Linked DNA regions of Homo sapiens: regions 1, 2 and 4 are each linked to region 3. The links are contacts of gene promoters, found by promoter capture Hi-C in blood cells and fetal thymus (Javierre and others, 2016). All regions are on one chromosome and are shown on one strand. Each heading gives the region's core, a stretch centred on a gene start or on the middle of the fragment in contact. The rest is flanking DNA. Distances are from core to core; before and after follow the strand shown. Region 1 holds the start of B3GNT3 (UDP-GlcNAc:betaGal beta-1,3-N-acetylglucosaminyltransferase 3). Region 2 has its middle 19 kb from the start of CCDC124. Region 3 holds the start of NXNL1 (nucleoredoxin like 1). Region 4 holds the start of SLC5A5 (solute carrier family 5 member 5).

Region 1 (2,842 bases), core at 266-2,765, 330 kb before region 3:
CTGCTCACCTAGGCCATATGGGGGCCCAGCTGCCTGACCTGGGGGCCACACCTCTTCCTCCTGACACCAGCCCTGCCTGGTGTCACCTTGAGAACAGGCCAGTGGGAGGAAGTGATGGCCCCCAGGGCTGGCCCCAGACCTAGACGGCCAGGTGGCTTCCCATGGGCCCTGAATCCCAGATCTGGACTGCAGGAGTCCCCCGCCCAAGTTGAGGGGCGACCTCAGTTTCCTCTTGAGAAGTGTCCATTTAAAAAAATCAGAGCTGGGCATAGTGGCTCATGCCTGAAATCCCAGCACTTTCAGATGCCAAGGCAGGAGGATTGCTTGGGCCCAGGAGTTTGAGACCAGCCTGGACAACATAGTGAGACCCCGTCTCCACACACAAAAAAATTTTAAAATTAGCTGCCTGTGGTGTGCACCTGTAGTCCCAGCTACTCGGGAGGCTGAGGTGGGAGGATCACTTGAGCCCAGGAGGTTGAGGCTGCAGTGAATACAGTGCATGGAGCCACTGTACTCCAGCCTGGGTGACAAAGTGAGTCCCCCACCTCTACAAATAAAACAAACAAACAAAAAGTTTAAATCTGACCCAGAGGAAAAGATGGTCGGGATTCTTGGAACAGGAGTGAATCTGAACAGTGGCTACAGACATAATTAATATAATTATGATGACAGCTGACTGTCCCTGGGCACCCACTGAGTGGCCACAGCTCCTATCCACTCAACTCATCCTCGCCAAGGTCCCATGCCATGAGACCCCCCCTTAACACACAGGGAAACTGAGGCTCAGAGACCTAACGCCAGTCACGCAAGGGCCCCCAGTGGCCAGCAGTACACCTCATCACAAAAATTTCCTTTGACTAAACGCTTCGGGCATCCTCATCCCAGCTGGTTCATTGTTCCACCTCACGGAGGGGAAACTGAGGCCGGTTCAGCAATGTGTCCATGCCACGCAGCCAGGGCCCCTGGAATGCCGCCCAGCCACCTGGCAGGGCCTGCAGCACCGGAACCGCAGGGAGAGACTGGGGGTCACCTGCAGTTCCCAAACCCAACCGGGGACCCCAGCGCTGGCTTGCCCAGATACTCCCAACCAAGGGGCCAATAATCTCAACAACACAGGTAACAGTAACAGCCAAGTCTGACTAAGCGGCATCCGCCTCGGGGGTCTGATCCCGCCCAATCTGGGAGGGGCGCCGGGGTCCCGGGTCGCCAGCTGTGGGGGAGGCTTCCTCCCCGACCCAGGTCCGAGCTGGCCTTGGGAACGCCGGAGACAATTACGGATGGGTGAGGGCAACCGGGTTCTCGAGACTCGGGGCTCCCGAATGTTCCCACATCTGCAGGGTATGCGCGGTGGAGACCGGCAGGGGCTTCTCCAGAGCCACAACTTCCCCACCCCCAAACCCCCACCACTGGGGTCCGCCAGATCCTCCGGGGGCTGCCGACACTCACCCCCAGACGACAGTCCCGCCTCTGCCCCTCTACCTGCTCCTCTCAGCTCGCGAGCCGAAGAAAGAGTTTTTACCTGAGCCAGAGCTCCCGCCCCTCTCCCGCTTCCTCCCTCCCACCGGGCCTCACGCCTTCCTGCCTCCCTCCGCCTTGGCCGCTTGCCAGTCCCCCTCTTCCCAGCTCGGCTGAGTTTCCTGGTGGCCCAGGCGAAGTTCTCTGCCGGCTCCTCCCTCCCCGGCCATGCCTCTTCCCCTCTCCGGTCCCGGCTGCCACCTCTGCCATCCCGCTCTTGCCACCCTCGCCCCTCTCGGGGCTCACGACCCCACCTTGGGTCTGGCCCGCTGCTAGGGAATGAGCTCCCCGTGGCTGGAGATGAACAAGCAGCGCCTTGCGGGTTCCTGGCACAGAGCCCGGTCAGCGTTGGCCCACGTGTGTTCCGTGAAGAAATGATTGGATAAGCCCATGGCGATAAGGAGGGAGGGAGGCAGGTTAAACCTTGCGGCACCTCTGCTCTCTGCGGGGAGTTCAAAGATTCCTGAAGCTGGGGTCGGCGCAGTGGCTCACTCCTGTACTTCCAGAGGCCGAGGGGGGCGGATCGCTGGAACCCAGGAGTTTGAGACCAGCCTGGGCAACATAGTGAGATTCCATCTCTATATTGAAAATAATTCCAGGACCCGAAAACCTACGATGTGCCCCCAGACATCCAGATGCCACCTGCTGGCATTTGGAAGGGTTCTGGAAGTCAACAATCAGACAGATTTGTAGTCTTTTCTTTTTCTTTTTTTCTTGTTTTGAGAGACAGGATCTCGCTTTGTCACCCAGGCTAGAGTACAGTGGTGTGATCTCCGCTCGCTACAATGTCGACCTCCCCAGTTCAAGCAATCCTCCCACCTCAGCCTCCCGAGTAGCTGGGACTACAGGCACCCGCCAGCATGCCTGGCTAATTTTTGTCATTTTTCTAGATATGGGGTTTTGATATGTTGCCCAGGCTGGTCTTAACTGTGGGCCTCAAGTGACCTTCCTGCCTCAGATCCCCAAGGTGCTGGATTATAGATGTGAGCCACTGCACCTGGCCTCAGATTTGTAGATTTTTAGGGTTGGGTTGGCTAGGATTCGAACCCTGCCCTGTGCTGCCTCTGAATCTCTAGGAGATTCTAGCCTGGACCCAGCGTTGGGAGCTCTGGGGTTGGGGAAGTCCAGGTGTGTGAGCTGGGCTATGGTTTCAGGAAACCCCTCCTTCCTCCTTCATCCCTGTTTCTTCCCGAGGAGGAAGCCGAGGTGTATATGTGGCCTGTCTGTGCCTCAGTTTCCTCACCTGTAAAATGTAAGAAATAGCCCCTGGGTACTCTGGATGGGAGAGGTCTGGGGAGTGAACCCTCAGAGCAAATGCATGATTAAA
Region 2 (3,055 bases), core at 380-2,879, 450 kb before region 3:
CAGATGTGTGCCACCATGCCCGGCTAAGTTTTTTTTTAGTAGAGACGGGGTTTCACTATGTTGGCCAGGCTGGTCTCAAACTCCTGACCTCAGGTGATCACCTGCCTCAGCCTCCCAAAGTGCTGAGATTACAGGCATGAGCCACTGTGCCTAGCCACCTTTTTTTTTTTTTTTTTTTTTTTTTAGCAGGGTCTTGTTCTATCACCGAGGCTGGAGTGCTGGGGTGATCTTGGCTCACTGCAGTGTCCATCTCCCAGGCTCAAGCAATCCTCCCACCTCAGCCTCCTATGTAGCAGGGACCTCAGGTGTGTGCCTCCAACAGCTGGCTATTTTTTTGTATTTTTTTGTAGAGATAGGGTTTCACCATGTTGTGCTATCTGGTCTTGAATTCCTGAGCTTGACTGATTCTCCCACCTTGGCCTCCCAAAGTGCTGGGATTACAGGTGTGAACCACTGCACCTGGCCACCCCCACTTCTTTAAAAAAATAGTACTTAAAAAAATGTTTTTGAGATGACATTTTCACTCTTGTTGCCCAGGCTGGAGTGCAATGGTGCAATCTCGGCTCACTGCAACCTCCGCCTCCTGGGTTCAAGTGATTCTTCTGTCTCAGCCTCCTGAGTAGCTGGGATTACAGGCACATGCCACCACACCCAGCTAATTTTTGTATTTTTAGTAGAGACGGGTCTTGAACTCCTGACCTCAGGTGATCTGCCCACCTTGGCCTCCCAAAGTGCTGGGATTACAACCATGAGCCACTGCGGCCAGCCACCATTTTTTTTTAAGATGGGGTCTTGCTCTGTTGCCCAGCCTGGAGTGCAATGATGCGATCTTGGCTCACGGCAACCTCCACCTCCTGGGCTCAAGCGATTCTCCCATTTCAGCCTCCTAAGTAACTGGGACCACAGGTGCACACCACTATGCCCAGCTAATTTTTTGTATTTTTTGTAAAGATGGGGTTTCACCATGTTGCCCAGGCTGGTCTCAAACTCCTGAGCTCAAGTGATCTTCCCACCTTGGCCTCCCAAAGTGCTGGGATTACAGGAGGGGACTCTGTGCCCAGCCTAAGGGAGTCTTGATTTACAGCCAGTGCATTAGAAGTACAGGTGAAAACCTACTGTTTGCAGATGGCATCTGCAGTAGGGACCATCTTGTGGGACTGAGCCCTTAACCTATGGGATCTGATACTATCTTCAGGTAGATAGCTTCTGAACTGAATTGAATTTAAAAACACCCACCTAAAAAAATAAAAAGACAAAAAAATCAAACAAAAAACCCCACCCAGCTGGTGTCTGCTGGAGAATTACTTGACGTTTGGAAAAGTTCCCATACATCTGGTGTCAGAAATGTTGTGTTAAGGCTGGGCACAGTGGCTCATGCCTGTAATCCCAGCACTTTGGGAGTCTGAGGCTGGCAGATCACCTGAGGTCAGGAGTTCGAGACCAGCCTGGGCAACATGGTGAAACTCCATCTCTACTAAAAATACAAAAGTTAGCTGGGCATGGTGGTGCATACCTGTAGTCCCAGCTACACGGGAGGCCGAGGTAGGCGAATCGTTTGAACCCGGGAGGCAGAAGGTTGCAGTGAGCAGAGATCACGCCATTGCACTACAGCCTGGGTGACAGAATGAGACTCCGTCTCAAAAAAGAAAAAAGAAAAGAAAGGAATGTTGTGTTGAGTGATGTGTGAGCAGAAAAAAAAATTAATTTATGTTTTCTTTTTACTTTTGGTGTCAGAAGTGGGATTTGGACTTGGTGCAGATCTTAAGTGTAATAATACACTATCTCAATGATATTATGATATTGTTGGAAACTGAAGATCAGGCTAGGACTGAGTTGAATGCAGTGGGGACCCACATGACCAACCAAAGCTGGCTAATAGCTGTCCAAATGGTGAAATTCTTAGAATAGGCCAGGCGCCGGTGGTTCAAGCATGTAATCCCAGCACTTTGGGAGGCCGAGGTGGGTGGATCACCTGAGATGAGCAGTTCAAGACCAGCCTGGCCACCATGGTGAAATGCCGTCCCTACTAAAAATACAAAACTTAGCTGGGTACGGTGGCAGGTGCCTGTAATCCCAGCTACTTGGGAGGCTGAGGCAGGAGAATTGCTTGAACTGGGGAGGTGGAGGTTGCAATGAGCCAAGATCACATCACTGCACTCCAGCCTGGGCGACAGAGTAAGACCTTGTCTTAAAATAAAAAAAAAAGAAAAAAGAAATTCTTAGAATAATCTAGGCAGGAGCCACCCAGGATAGTCCACAACTGACTAAAAATAAATTGCTGGCCAGGTGTGGTGGCTCACACCTGTAATCCCAGCACTTTGGGAGGCCGAGGTGGGTGGATCACCTGAGCTCAGGAGTTTGAGATTAACCTGACCAACATGGAGAAATCCCATCTCTACTAAAAATACAAAATTAGCTGGGGGTAGTGGTGCATGCCTGTAATCCCAGTTACTCGAGAGGCTGAGGCAGGAGAATCGCTTGAACCCAGGGGGTGGAGGTTGCAGTGAGCCAAGATCACACCACTGTATTCTAGCCCGTGTGACAGAGCAAGACTCCACCTCAAAAAAAAAAAAAAAAAAAAGAAAGAAAGAAAGAAAAAAAGAAACAGCCGTCGTTACCTAACCCCAGGACCAAACAAGAAACGTCAGTGTTTCTGGAGTCTCCAACAGGACTCAGTCCCAACACCTCTGCTCCCCATGAATTCAGAGAATAGCACTGGGGCTGGAAGGGCCTTCAGTAGGTCCAAGGCCAGCATGCACAAGACCCACTGCCCAGAGAAGAGGGAGATTTGGGTCCTCCAGTGGTCCCCAAGCCAGTTTCTTTGACAGATTGAGGAGGTCCAAGCAAGCTGGTAGCCTCTGTGTCCCCCAGCCTCAGGCCTCAGTGTCTGGCACTCCAGCTTCACAGGCGTTTGCAGTGGGGCATCCTCAGGGAATAAAAAGTTTTGTGAAGACCTGGAGATCTTTTTTCAAAAGCACAATTACAGGTTTTCACACAGACTAGTCTTCATTCATACCTAAAACTCTCATTTCTGGTAGAAAATATGCACCAGTGA
Region 3 (2,702 bases), core at 37-2,536:
TCAGGTGATCCGCCTGCCTCAGCCTCCCAAAGCGCTGGGATTACAGGCATGAGCCACCACACCCGGTCTAATTTTTGCTTTTTTTTTTTTTTTGAGACGGAATCTCACTCTGTCACCCAGGCTGGAGTGCAGTGGCGCGGTCTCGGCTCACTGCAAGCTCCACCTCCCGGGTTCACGCCATTCTCCTGCCTCAGCCTCCCGAGTAGCTGGGACTACAGGTGCCCGCCACCACACCCGGCTAATTTTTTTTGTACTTTTAGTAGAGACGGGGTTTCACTGTGTTAGTCAGGATGGTCTCGATCTCCTGACCTTGTGATCCACCTGCCTCAGCCTCCCAAAGTGCTGGGATTACAGGCGTGAGCCACCACACCTGGCCAATTTTTGCATTTTTAGTAGAGATGGGGTTTCTCCATGTTGGCCAGACTGGTCTCGAACTCCTGACTTCAGGTGATCCACCCACCTTGACCTCCCAAAGCTTTGGGATTACAGGCGTGAGCCACCGTGCCCAGCCTATTTTTTATTTTTAGACACTAGGTCTTGCTCTGTCACCCAGGATGGAGTGCAGTAGTGCAGTCATTGTAGCCTCAACCTCCCAGGCTCAAGTGATCCTTCCATCTCAGCTGAGTAGCTGGGACTACAGGCTCATGACAACACCATGCCCAGCTAAGTTTTTAATTTTTTCATAGAGATGGGGTCTCACACTGTTGCCCAAGCTGCTCTCAAACTCCTGGTCTCAGGTGATCCTCCTGCCTCAGCCTCCCAAAGTGCTGAGATTACAGGCGTGAGTCACTGTCTGCTACATGGTTTTTTGGTTTTTTTTCTTTCTTTCTTTCTTTTTTTTTCTGAGATGGAGTCTCGCTCTGTCGCCCAGGCTGGAGTGCAGTGGCACAATCTCAGCTCACTGCAACCTCCGCCTCCTGGCTTCAAGCGATTCTCCTGCCTCGGCTGCCCAAGTAGCTGGGATTACAGGTGCCCACCACCACGCCTGGCTAATTTTTTTATTTTTTAGTACAGACAGGGTTTCACCATGTTGGCCAGGCTGGTCTCAAACTCCTGACCTCAGATGATCCTCCCACCTCTGCCTCTCAAAGTGCTGGGATCACAGGCGTGAGCCACCGTGCCCATCTGTTACGTGTTTTCTTAATGCGTTTGCGGCTCTCTCCTGAGAAGGGCCACACAGAGAGCCCTGCCCCCCGCCCTTAGAGGCCCCTCAGGTCAAGGTTTAGGCAGATTAGTGAAGTCCTAAGCTGGTTTTCTAAAGATTTCTATTTCTGGGAGAGGAGCCAGTCAGCAGACCGGGGACCACACGCCGCGCTGTCCCCAGCACCCAACCCAGGTTACCATGGCCTCCCTGTTCTCTGGCCGCATCCTGATCCGCAACAATAGCGACCAGGACGAGCTGGATACGGAGGCTGAGGTCAGTCGCAGGCTGGAGAACCGGCTGGTGCTGCTGTTCTTTGGTGCTGGGGCTTGTCCACAGTGCCAGGCCTTCGTGCCCATCCTCAAGGACTTCTTCGTGCGGCTCACAGATGAGTTCTATGTACTGCGGGCGGCTCAGCTGGCCCTGGTGTACGTGTCCCAGGACTCCACGGAGGAGCAGCAGGACCTGTTCCTCAAGGACATGCCAAAGAAATGGCTTTTCCTGCCCTTTGAGGATGATCTGAGGAGGTGAGGAGGGGCAGGGAGGGCTTCCTGGAGGAGGGGGCATGTTCGCTGAAAGTGAAGCATCCATTCTAACTAGAGTGAATGAGCAGCCCCTGTGTGCCAGTCCATATACTGGGAACTAGGGGGTACAGACAGGGGTGCCCACTTCCACATGCTGGCTTCCATGCCACCCCAGGGAGCTTAGAGCCGAGTGAGAGGAACAGATGCAAAAGACAGAATCAACTATGTAATAGCAAGGCCGGGCATGGTGGCTTAACCCTGTAATCCCAGGACTTTGGCAGGCCGAGGTGGGCAGATCACCTGAGGTCGGGAGTTTGAGACAAGCCTGGTCAACATAGTGAAACCCTGTCTCTACTAAAAATACAAAAATTATCCAGGCGTGGTGGTGGGCGCCTGTAATCCCAGCTGCTTGGGAGGCTGAGGCAGGAGAATCGTTTGAAACTGGGAGGCAGATGCTGCAGTGAGGTAAGATCGTGCCACTGCCCTCCAGCCTGGGTGACAGAGGGAGACTCTGTCTAAAAAATCAAAAAACAAATATATAATAGCGAATTGCAGTAGTGCTCAGAGGACAAAGCTAGGCCACAAAGTGGAAATACAATGAGGGAAACCTTGGTGAGGTTCCGGGGTCAGAGGATGCTTCCCCGAAAAAGTGGCTTTAAAGAGAGACCCCTAGCTGGGCACGGTGGCTCATGCCTGTAGTCCTAGCCACCTGGGAGGCTATGGTAAGAGGATAACTGGAGCCTAGAGTTTGAGGCTGCAGTGAGCTATGATCGCACCACTGCACTCCAGCCAGGGCAATACAGGTAGACCCTGTCTCTTAAAAAAGTAAGGCCAGGTACGGTGGCTCACACCTGTAAATCTAGCACTTTGGGAGGCCAAGGTGAGCAGATCACCTGAGGTCAGGAGTTCGAGACTAGCCTGACCAATATGGCAAAACCCTGTCTCTACTAAAAATACAAAAATTAGCCAGGCCTGGTGGCGCACAGCTGTGGTCCCAGCTACTTGCGAGGCTGAGGCAGGAGAATTGCTTGAATCCA
Region 4 (2,879 bases), core at 78-2,577, 410 kb before region 3:
CCAGGCTGGTCTTGAACTCCTGACCTCAGGTGATCTGCATGCTTTGGCCTCCCAAAGTGCTGGGATTACAGGCGTGAGCCACCGCACCGGGCCCCGGTCACGATTTTAATCGCTTTACCCTCTCCCCTGGAGGGAGGTCCTGTAATTCGCCCATTGGACAGCTGGGAAACCCAAACAGAGAGGCACGCCCCTTGCCCAAGATACAAGAAAGCAGTGAAGCCAGGTTTCGAACCCCGGAGCCGTCAGCAGTCCCCTCTAGCGCGCACACGTGGGTCTGCACGCCCGGGCAGGTGGGGGGCAGGTGTGTGTCCACCCGTGAGGACACACCTGGTCGAGCCGGGCCCCGCCCCGCGCGCGCTTCCACCGAAGGAGCAGGACGCCAGGCTCTCTCTTCCTCCTTCCTGCCCCTCGCCGGGCGCCTGGGGCCTCTTCCTAGAACCCTCCCCACGTGTCTGCCTAGGGGCCCCTTCCGTTAAAGCACCGAGGTGCCATCCGCGTCCTCCTGTACAGCGGCCCAAAGCCCCAGCGCCTCCCCCACACGGGGTCCCAGCACTGCCAGTGGGGCAGGTCCTACCCCCGGGCCTCTGTCCGGTACCTCGTAGGTGCTGGTGAGGCCCAGGCGGTAGAAGACGGGCATGAAGAGCAGGGCGGTGAGGACCGAGTTCAGAAGCTGGCCCAGGCACATCCAGAGGAACTTGAGGCCATAGCGATAGGCCTCCGACGGCACGCCCAGCACCTGCACGGCCGACATGAAGCTGGCAGACAGCGACAGGCCCACGGGCAGGGCCGCCAGGCGCCGGCCCCCGGTGAAGAAGTCCTCAGCGCTGCGCTGCCCGCCCCGAGCCAGCCCGACCCACAGCCCGATGCCAGTGGACACCAGGAGCATGAGGGCAAAGACCCCGTAGTCCCAGGCTCCGAAGGTGGGCCGTTCCCCGGTCTCCACGGCCTCCATGAGGGCGGGTGCGGAGGCCCAGCGCGTCCTCGGACGCCCTGCGTGCTCAAGCGGGGGAAGCTGGCAGGGGCCGAGGAGGCAGGACGGGGAGGGCGGGTGGGAGGATGCTCGGCAGCCTGTCCCCGCTCCGTCTGGGGTGGGAAGCGGCGAGAGGGGCCGGGGCTCCCTGGGTTAGGAATCTATGGGCTGTCGATGTCCGTGTCGGCCTCCCTGTCCCCGCTGTCTGTCTCTGCGTCCGCCCCTGCTGTCTGTCTGTCCTGCCACCTCCCCTCTCACTCTGGGTTCCGCTGTCCCATGCAGCCGGCTGTCTGTCCCTCTCCCTGGGCGCTGTGCTCAGCGCTGACAGCTGGAGGTCGCCTTGGGGCTTACGGGAGCAGCTCGTGATTGTGGGTTGCAGATTTATTGGGCTCCCGGGTCACCGCGACTCCGCCTCCAGACCTAGGGGCGGGCAGGACCCGCACCCTTTCAGCCCTGGACTGGGACAGACAGGCCAGGACAGGCTATCTGGGTGGCTGCAGGGGGTGGTATCGGGGAGGGCTCCCAAATGCCCCTCCATCCCCATGCACCCACCCATCCCCATGCACTGTGATCCCCTGATCACAGCTGTCACTGTCTGCTGTTGACAGGTGGGGAAATTGAGGCTCAGAGAGGGCATGTCACTATCCAAGCCTGCACAGCCTGCTTCAGCACTCAAAGCCGTATTGTGCTTGAATACCTTGAGCTATGGGGAGCTCACTTTCATGCAGGACTGGGGTTCACTTTCAGGGTTTCAGGGGACCCATAAAGAAAACTTACCTGGCTTTACCACCCCCAAACTGGCATGTGGGCCTACCCCCTTTCTCTAGAGCCTTAGGGGGTGGGCATCACTGAACCCCGCTCTTGGGCTAAGCTGGGTGGGAGACATTCAGAGCTCAAGTTCTGAGTGGGTACATACTTGGGGAAGACTTTGCTCCTCCCTGGGCCTTAGTTTCCCCATCTGTAACAAGGATAAAATAGACCCTGCCTCAGAGGAATAAATGGGACGTGGTAACGAAAGCCTGGTACATGATAAGTGCCTCATTCATTTATTCCTTTATTCATTTGTCACTTCATTCATTCATTCATTGGTTCCTTTGCAGATATGCACTGAGAGTTGGCCCTGTGCCAGGCATAAATGGCTCACTGAGGTGGTGCGAGGGGCCTTTAAGGTTATGAACCCGAATAAGCGGAGACCATGACCACCAGGGAGGTAGAGTCTGGCTTGTCCCTATCATATAGATGAGGAAACCAAGGTTGGGTGTGGGAGAAAGTCTACTGGGGGGGTCACGCTTCCATGAGGACCAACGAGCTGTCATCTCAGGGCCCTTCTCTGGGGGACCCAGGAGGACTTTGACCTCTGGAGGTTCTGGTCTCTGGGTTCAAGTCTCAGCTCAGCCTCCAACTTTCTGGGCAATCACGCATCTCAAACTTGGTTCCCTTCTCCATAAGCTGGTGGAATCTGAAATCCTGGGGGTTGAAAGAAACAGCGTCAGAGGCCGGGCATGATGGCTTATGCCTGTAATCCCAGCACTTTGGGAGGCTGAAGTGGGAGGATCATTTGAGTCCCAGAATTCGAGACTACCCTGAGCAACATAGTGAGATCTTGTCTGTATGAAAAATACAAATATTAGCGAGGCGTGGTGGCACATGCCTGTAATCCCAGCTACTCAGGAGGCTGAAGTGGGAGGATCGCTTGAGCGTGGAAGTTCGAGGCTGCAATGAGCTGTGGTCGAGAACTGCACAGCACTCCAGCCTGGGCAGCACAGCAAGACCCCGTCTCCAAAAAAAAAAAAAAAAAAAAAAAAAGGGCTTTTGAGCGCTTCTCGCCAGCCTCTGCTGCTCCCTGGTGGCCTCCTCTGGCCTACCCTCTGCCCTGGCCGCTCCAGCTGGGTCCAGCGTTTCTCAACGC

Evidence for each region. The method cuts DNA at HindIII sites, captures the fragments that hold promoters and counts their contacts. A CHiCAGO score of 5 or more calls a contact.
Region 1: the fragment with the promoter of B3GNT3 here is called in contact with the fragment with the promoter of NXNL1 in region 3 in 1 of 17 cell types (endothelial precursors); the score reaches 5.3 in endothelial precursors.
Region 2: a fragment that was not itself captured here is called in contact with the fragment with the promoter of NXNL1 in region 3 in 4 of 17 cell types (naive CD8 T cells, erythroblasts, M2 macrophages and 1 more); the score reaches 5.7 in naive CD8 T cells.
Region 4: a contact is called between the fragment with the promoter of SLC5A5 here and the fragment with the promoter of NXNL1 in region 3, in 3 of 17 cell types (naive CD4 T cells, M0 macrophages and erythroblasts). The highest score is 5.5, in naive CD4 T cells.

Annotation. Positions count from the first base shown.
Region 1 is chr19:17,793,811-17,796,652 of GRCh38, reverse strand. It overlaps B3GNT3 (UDP-GlcNAc:betaGal beta-1,3-N-acetylglucosaminyltransferase 3), which reads right to left and starts at 1,515. Exons shown (of 3, transcript NM_014256.4): 1 at 1,447-1,515. RefSeq lists enhancers at 922-1,619, 1,620-2,317. The HindIII fragment of the contact is 23,173 bases long and covers 1-2,842 here.
Region 2 is chr19:17,912,199-17,915,253 of GRCh38, reverse strand. No RefSeq gene overlaps it. Among named protein-coding and RNA genes, the nearest start is that of CCDC124, 19 kb to the left of the region's middle. The HindIII fragment of the contact is 4,460 bases long and covers 1-3,055 here.
Region 3 is chr19:17,459,510-17,462,211 of GRCh38, reverse strand. NXNL1 (nucleoredoxin like 1) reads left to right here and starts at 1,286. Exons shown (of 2, transcript NM_138454.2): 1 at 1,286-1,668. The coding sequence starts at 1,343. RefSeq lists an enhancer at 880-1,380. The HindIII fragment of the contact is 2,658 bases long and covers 478-2,702 here.
Region 4 is chr19:17,870,393-17,873,271 of GRCh38, reverse strand. SLC5A5 (solute carrier family 5 member 5) reads right to left here and starts at 1,327. Exons shown (of 15, transcript NM_000453.3): 1 at 596-1,327. The coding sequence starts at 952. The HindIII fragment of the contact is 10,072 bases long and covers 1-2,879 here.